Linked DNA regions of Homo sapiens: region 1 is linked to region 2. Evidence: promoter capture Hi-C in 16 types of primary human blood cells and fetal thymus (Javierre and others, 2016). All regions are on one chromosome and are shown on one strand. The core of a region is centred on a gene start or on the middle of the fragment in contact, and the rest is flanking DNA. Distances in the headings are between cores, read along the strand shown.

What was found. The method cuts DNA at HindIII sites, captures the fragments that hold promoters and counts their contacts. A CHiCAGO score of 5 or more calls a contact.
Region 1: a contact is called between a fragment that was not itself captured here and the fragment with the promoter of XPO5 in region 2, in 1 of 17 cell types (total B cells). The highest score is 5.5, in total B cells.

What each region holds. Positions count from the first base shown.
Region 1 is chr6:42,571,152-42,574,392 of GRCh38, reverse strand. It overlaps UBR2 (ubiquitin protein ligase E3 component n-recognin 2), which reads right to left. Exons shown (of 47, transcript NM_001363705.2): 2 at 400-659. Among named protein-coding and RNA genes, the nearest start is that of UBR2, 8.7 kb to the right of the region's middle. RefSeq lists enhancers at 1,434-1,483, 1,574-1,633. The HindIII fragment of the contact is 744 bases long and covers 1,417-2,160 here.
Region 2 is chr6:43,574,495-43,577,533 of GRCh38, reverse strand. XPO5 (exportin 5) reads left to right here and starts at 1,496. Exons shown (of 32, transcript NM_020750.3): 1 at 1,496-1,774. The coding sequence starts at 1,670. It overlaps POLH (DNA polymerase eta), which reads right to left and starts at 1,349. Exons shown (of 11, transcript NM_006502.3): 1 at 1,094-1,349. RefSeq lists an enhancer at 1,080-1,329 and a silencer at 1,350-1,549. The HindIII fragment of the contact is 3,950 bases long and covers 1-2,509 here.

The DNA.
Region 1 (3,241 bases), core at 539-3,038, 1.0 Mb after region 2:
CACCCACAAACTAATGAAGGCATGTGAAAAAGACAAGATGGTGTGACGGGGCTCTCACTAGCCAAATCTATGGCAATTTGAACATCAGAATTACTGTAACTAAAAAATATCAAGAAAAGCAAGAAAGTGATTATTGCAAGAGTCAAGATGTCAGTTAATTATGGGGGAAGGAAGAAAGCACACAGTGGGCTTCAAGAATGCTGGTGACAATTTTTTTTGATCAAGAATAATTACAAAAATGTTTGCTTTAATTATTTATTAAATAGCATGTATTTGTAATACAGATTTTTAAGCAGATATGGTATTTCATAATTTTTAAACAAAAACTCAAAAGTTCCAGGGAAAAAAAGAGGTCAAATAAAACAAGAGCCTCCTAGAAAGAAAATTAAAATATTTTACCTGCAAGAATATGTAGGCTCTCCTACTTTAAAAACACGACCACAAAGATGAGAAGGTTTGTTTGCTTGCTCAAGTTTTGGAAATCCAAATGCAGGATCTTCACCACAAAGGTACCATTCCATTGGTCCCAACAAAACATGCTGTGCCAGCATGTCTTCTTTCTGTGGAAAAGGGTTGGGACCCCTGCAGTAGATTTTGGGTACATAGTGGGCTAAATGCTGGTACACTTCTCTAGTGAGGTCAGTTGCTTGCAGCCATTTCTTTAAAAGAAGAAAAGAGAAGAAATGGTTTTAAACACCAACAAACTAATTTGAACAAATTCACCCTACTTTCTTTTAGGTACAAAAATAATGACAAAAGCATATTAAAATATTTTGTTTACAACACTCACCACCGTACGTTAGAAATTTAATCTATTAAAATGCCAAGTATGTTTAAATCCTACTTTTAAGTGTAAGTAAAATTAAAATGAAACAAGCCTCCCTCCTTCCCTGCAAAATGACTCTTGAAGCAATCTTCTCTAGGCAGTACCAGAAAATAATTACAAGAAATCATTATATAAGATATGAACCATTGAGCTCACCTAATGTCCTTCCTAATGCTTTGCTCAAATGTTATTCTCATTGTGATATCAATTCTCACGTCAGTTTGTCCATAGGAAGAGTGTACGGTGAATATGAACAGCCAATATGTACGGTGAACATGAACAGCCAATACACATTTCTTAATGATTGATAAGCAAGTTTATATACCAGTCTCTTATTGAATAAGTCAGTCCACAAGAGACTGTTGTACCAATTATGCCTTCTTTCTCTGATCAACTTCTCTCTCTCTATAAGGCCTTTTCCGTTTGCTCTCCCCACTAAAAACAAATTTTAAAGCATGATTCTACTTAGATCTCATAGGTACCAACTCAATAACTGAATGCATGATCTCCCCTCCATGCTCCACCAAAATCTGTTATTTTCTCCATTTCCAGCTCAACCTGGGTATCCACACCGAAAAATCTGAAAAGCTTCCCAGCACTTTGGGAGGCCAGGCCAAGCAGATCACCTGAGGTCAGGAGTTCAAGACCAGCCTGGCCAACATGGTGAAGTCTCTTCTCTACTAAAAATATAAAAATTAGCTGGATGTGGTGGCGCATGCCTGTAATCACAGTTACTCAAGAGGCTGAGGCAGGAGAAATCGCTTAAACCCAGGAGGCAGAGGTTGTAGTGAGCCAAGATCCAGCCTGGGCGACAGAGCAAGAGTCTGTCTCAAAGGACAAAAAAAAAAAAAGACTCACTTCTGCTAGAATGCAGTTAACTGAACCGTGAACAAAACCCACAGATGGAGGGAAAGAGGAAGGGGAAGTGAGTTGAAAAACTACCTATTGGGTACTATGCTCACTACCCAGGTGCAATATACTCATGTAACAAACCTGCACATGTATTCCTTAAATCTAAAGTAAAAGCTGAAATTAAAAAAAACCTCCAATGTTTACCTATGGATTACTACCTAATTCCAGTTACATTTTTATTTAAAAAAAAAAAAAAAGTATGTTCAAGTGATATGTAACATCATAAGAAGTCAACATAAGGTCTTCATTTTAGCTATTACTTGTATATTCTTCAGACCACTCCTTCTAAAAACAACATACAGAGAGATTTTAAATATGCATGAGGTGATGTATATTAACTTTCTAGTCAATTTCTGTTTTCAGAGAACTTTTACTAAAAATGTAAAAATTTTGTTCATAAGTTAAGGGACTGGATAGAAGCTTATAACCAAAAACGGTGAAAGAGTTTTCATGCTTAAAGTGAAACTAAACTATTTTCCAAATATTACTAACATTGTTGTGTTTACATTATGCAAGTAGGAAAGAGACTAAATTACTTTCAAAACAACAGCATTTCTTCCCTGGTGGCCAAGTGGTTAGGGAAAAAAAAATAAAAATAAAAATAAAACAGCAGCAGCAGCATCATTTCTTAGGAGACAATCCTACAGGCTTTAAGTATTCTCTCCCTTCAGAGTGACTCAATCAAAATTTTATATATACATACACATCCTTTAAGCTCAGTAATTATAAAGAGGACAAGTTTTAAAAAAAGAAAAAGAGTCCTCAACAAGCATACTAGAATCTTATTCTTTGAGCTAAAAGACCTCGTTTTGGCCTCATTCAAAGGTAAATGTCTCATTTTTCACCCATTGTCAGCAAACCAAAACAAGAATGAAGGTAGTCAAATGATCCTAAGCGCTTTTTTTTTTTTTTTTTTTTGAGTCTCGTGCTGTCGCCCAGGCTGGAGTGCAGTGGTACGATCTCGGCTCACTGCAACCTCTGCCTCCCAGGTTCAAGTGATTCTCCTGCCTCAGCCTCCTGAGTAGCTGGGGTTACAGGTGTGCACCACCACACGCGGCTAATTTTTGTATTTTTAGTAGAGACAAGGTTTCACTATGTTGACCAGGCTTGTCTCAAACTCCTGACATCAGGTGATCTGCCCACCTCGGCCTCCCAAAGGTGCTAGGATTCAATTTACTCTTTATGAAAGAAAAATTAAGCAATAAGACCAAAATAATTCACCTCCATGATCCTAGAAAGTTAAGTGCTTCGGACTTTTTTTTACAACATATTGAAAGATTTTATTTAAAAACCAGTTTTTTTCCTTATATTTTATGTTCCCATTCCTGTAAAACTTCACTGTTGCAAAATTTTAATACAAGAATGAAAGGTTACTTTAGAAGGGATGCTTTTTTTTTTTTTTTTTTTTTTTTGAGACGGAGTCTTGCTCTGTCACCCAGGCTGGAGTGCAGTGGCGCGATCTCGGCTCACTGAAAGCTCCGCCTCCCAGGTTCACGCCATTCT
Region 2 (3,039 bases), core at 247-2,746:
ATAAATTCCAATCGACCACGCCTAAAACAGGCAGAATGTGATACTTTAAACATTTACAAGTTAAAACTATAACATGCCAGAAGTCCCTCTACTTTGAAGTGGCTTTTCAGTAGTACTGGAACAGACTGAGCCAACAAATAGTATTGTAACACAAAAAAACACAGGCTAAGCACCATATTAGATCCAAATACCAGAAGTGGAGCAAGAATAGGAAGCAGTGATTTATGTTCAGCACACAATTTACTAAGCACACAATCACAAAAACAGACATGCAGACTTTAACAGATAATAAAGCTGTTGAGGTTTTCCGTTTATGTATTTACTGGAGAAAGCAAGAGCTTTATTTATTTATTTTTGAGACGGAGTTTCGCTCTGTCGCCCAGGCTGGAGTGCAAAGGCGCGATCTCGGCTCACTGAACCTCCGCCTCCCGGGTTCAAGCGATTCTCCCACCTCAGCCTCCCGAGTAGCTGGGATTACAGGCGCGCACCGCCACGCCTGTATAAAAATACTAAAAATGCAAACATAATTTTTGTATGTTTAGTAGAAACGGGGTTTCACCATGTTGGTGAGGCTGGTCTCGAACTCCTGACCTCAGGTGATCCGCCCGCCTCCGCCTCCCAAAGTGCTGGGATTACAGGCGTGAGCCACCGCGCCCGGCCAAGAGCTTTATAAAGATGGAAAATGAAGAAGACTTTCTGCCCAAGCCATGCTTTTGGATAAGGATTACACTACTTTGAAACCTTATACATAGCACTTGGCCAATTATCAAAACTGCACAAACCTTCACTGATTGCAATTATTCCCTTTAAACATCTCGAGTTACCCCAATCCGCACAAAACAAGTTTAGTGCCCACCAGGTAATAATACATCCAGGAAAGTAATTCCAAGAGAGAGGTTTAACAACTACAGGGAAAAACATACTTTTTTCTACAAGAAAAATCTTAGAAGACAGTACCAGGGCCTTATCCCTGTTAGCATGATTTATATTTCACGCAACCTTGGCCCAGTCACTGCTACATTATAAAACCAATAGCCAAGGCAACATAGAAAGTCTGAACACAGTGACAGCGAACGGTTCTAAATTTTCTTACCAAGGTAACAAACACCTGGCAAAACTGCCAGCAGCGGTTGCCGAAAATGCTGGGTTCGGTGCCTACTGGAAGGAAAATGGAAGGGCTCCTGAATATCTTTTCGCCTTTCTAGGAGCGGTCCAGTGAGTTTCGAGCGAGATTTATTCCCTGTGACGACGGAGAAACCGAGAAGGGATCGTAAAGGATCCTGCCCGGGCAACCGTCCCCAGCAGGGATCAGACGAGAGCGGCGCGCCCAGCAATGCAGCCGCCAGACTGAGGTCTGACAGCGCGCCCGCTGCGAAGGGCCGTTGACGCGGCTGCGCACCGCGGCCCTTCCGCCTCCCGCCCCGCCCACCTAGGCTCAACCTGCACACGGGAGCCGCCACTTCCGCGGGCGCGTGCGCAGTGGCGGGCCGGGCGCGTGCGCAGCGCCGGCTTCTTCCCAGCGCGAGTTGCTGCTAACGCTCCTCCTCCAGCTTCCCACCCCCGCCGCCCGCCGCGGCCCGGTACCAACGGGTGGTCTCGCCGAGGGAGCTGTCGTGCCTCGTGGTCCCGGGACTGCAGTGGTGTGCGCTCTCGGCGCGTGGCGCTAGGCATGGCGATGGATCAAGTAAACGCGCTGTGCGAGCAGCTGGTGAAAGCGGTGACGGTCATGATGGACCCCAACTCCACCCAGCGCTACCGGCTGGAAGCCCTCAAGGTAGCTGGGGTCCTGGCGTCCTGGGCCGGTCCCGACACCCTCTCCCAGCCCCAGCAGCTCCGGCGCCGCCTGTAACTGGGGTAGTCTCCCGCCCACGCGGCCCCTGGACCTCCTTTCCCAACTCCCCGGGACCTTCCCCTCGCGGCCCTCCGCGCCTCTCCCAAATCGCCGCCTTCTCTACTCGCCGCTCCTGTCCTTTGCCTGGGACACTCCGGTCCCTATGCTGCTTCTCATCTCGCCGCAGCTTCCCACAGCCCTCTCCTCCCCCTTTCCTCGCTTCTGTGCACTCTTGTCCGCAACATGACCCTCGCCCATTTTCATTCCCCAAGCCCGACATCCCCTCGCCTTCCCGAGGCGCACGTGTAGATCCCGCCCCCAACACCAGCTTCGTTCTTTATGGTCTCTCCTGCACTAAACGTTTTCCTGCTGGCCCACTCCCCTGGCCCTGACCGAGCTCCAGCCCCTCTGGTACCCTTATGCTTATATGCTTTAACATCTCGCTAACTTTCGTTTGTGTCTTGGACATTTTCCGGGGAAATTCTCGCACCCCTACTTCTCCCATGTTTTTGAGTGTAATATTTTTAGGCTATTTTGCGCAAAGATAACTTCTACCACTTACTTTGCATTTTAACAAGGGCACTTTGGTTTCCTGAAAGTAGTTTGCGTGAGACCCGAATGCTCTGCTCTTGGGACTGACTTATGTTGCAGTTTGGGGGTGTTAATACAATTCAAGCTTACTTGCCCATAAAACAACGTGTGTGGGCTGTGAGAAATGGCCATTTAGGAGAAAATACTTGTGCTGTACATTTTTAAAGTGATGTTAACTTCAAAAAAGAGAGTGACCACCACTTGGAGGAAATGTTACAATATGTAGATGTCTGCCACAGGGTTTGGAATCAGAAACAATTGGGTTCCATTAGTTTGGTTTTTATTATTAATATTTAAAATAGACACAAAAGTGGAGAGAATACGACAGTGATTCTGCATGTTCCTGTCACCTAAATTCAGCAATCAAAGATTTTACCGCATTTACTTTTTCCACCGCCTATCCTCTCTCCCTGCCTCGAAGGTTTTTAAAAGAAACCCTAGAAATTGTTATTTCACCCCTATGTACGTCAGGGGGATGTCTCTAACAAATAATTTCTTATTCCTTTGTGTCCATTTTTTTCCAACACTAGTAGGGCTACTGTTGGCCGTAGCATGGAAAAAATCTGGAACCATCACGCTGGAAGGAATGTTTATCAGTTCTTTATTCATAATATATA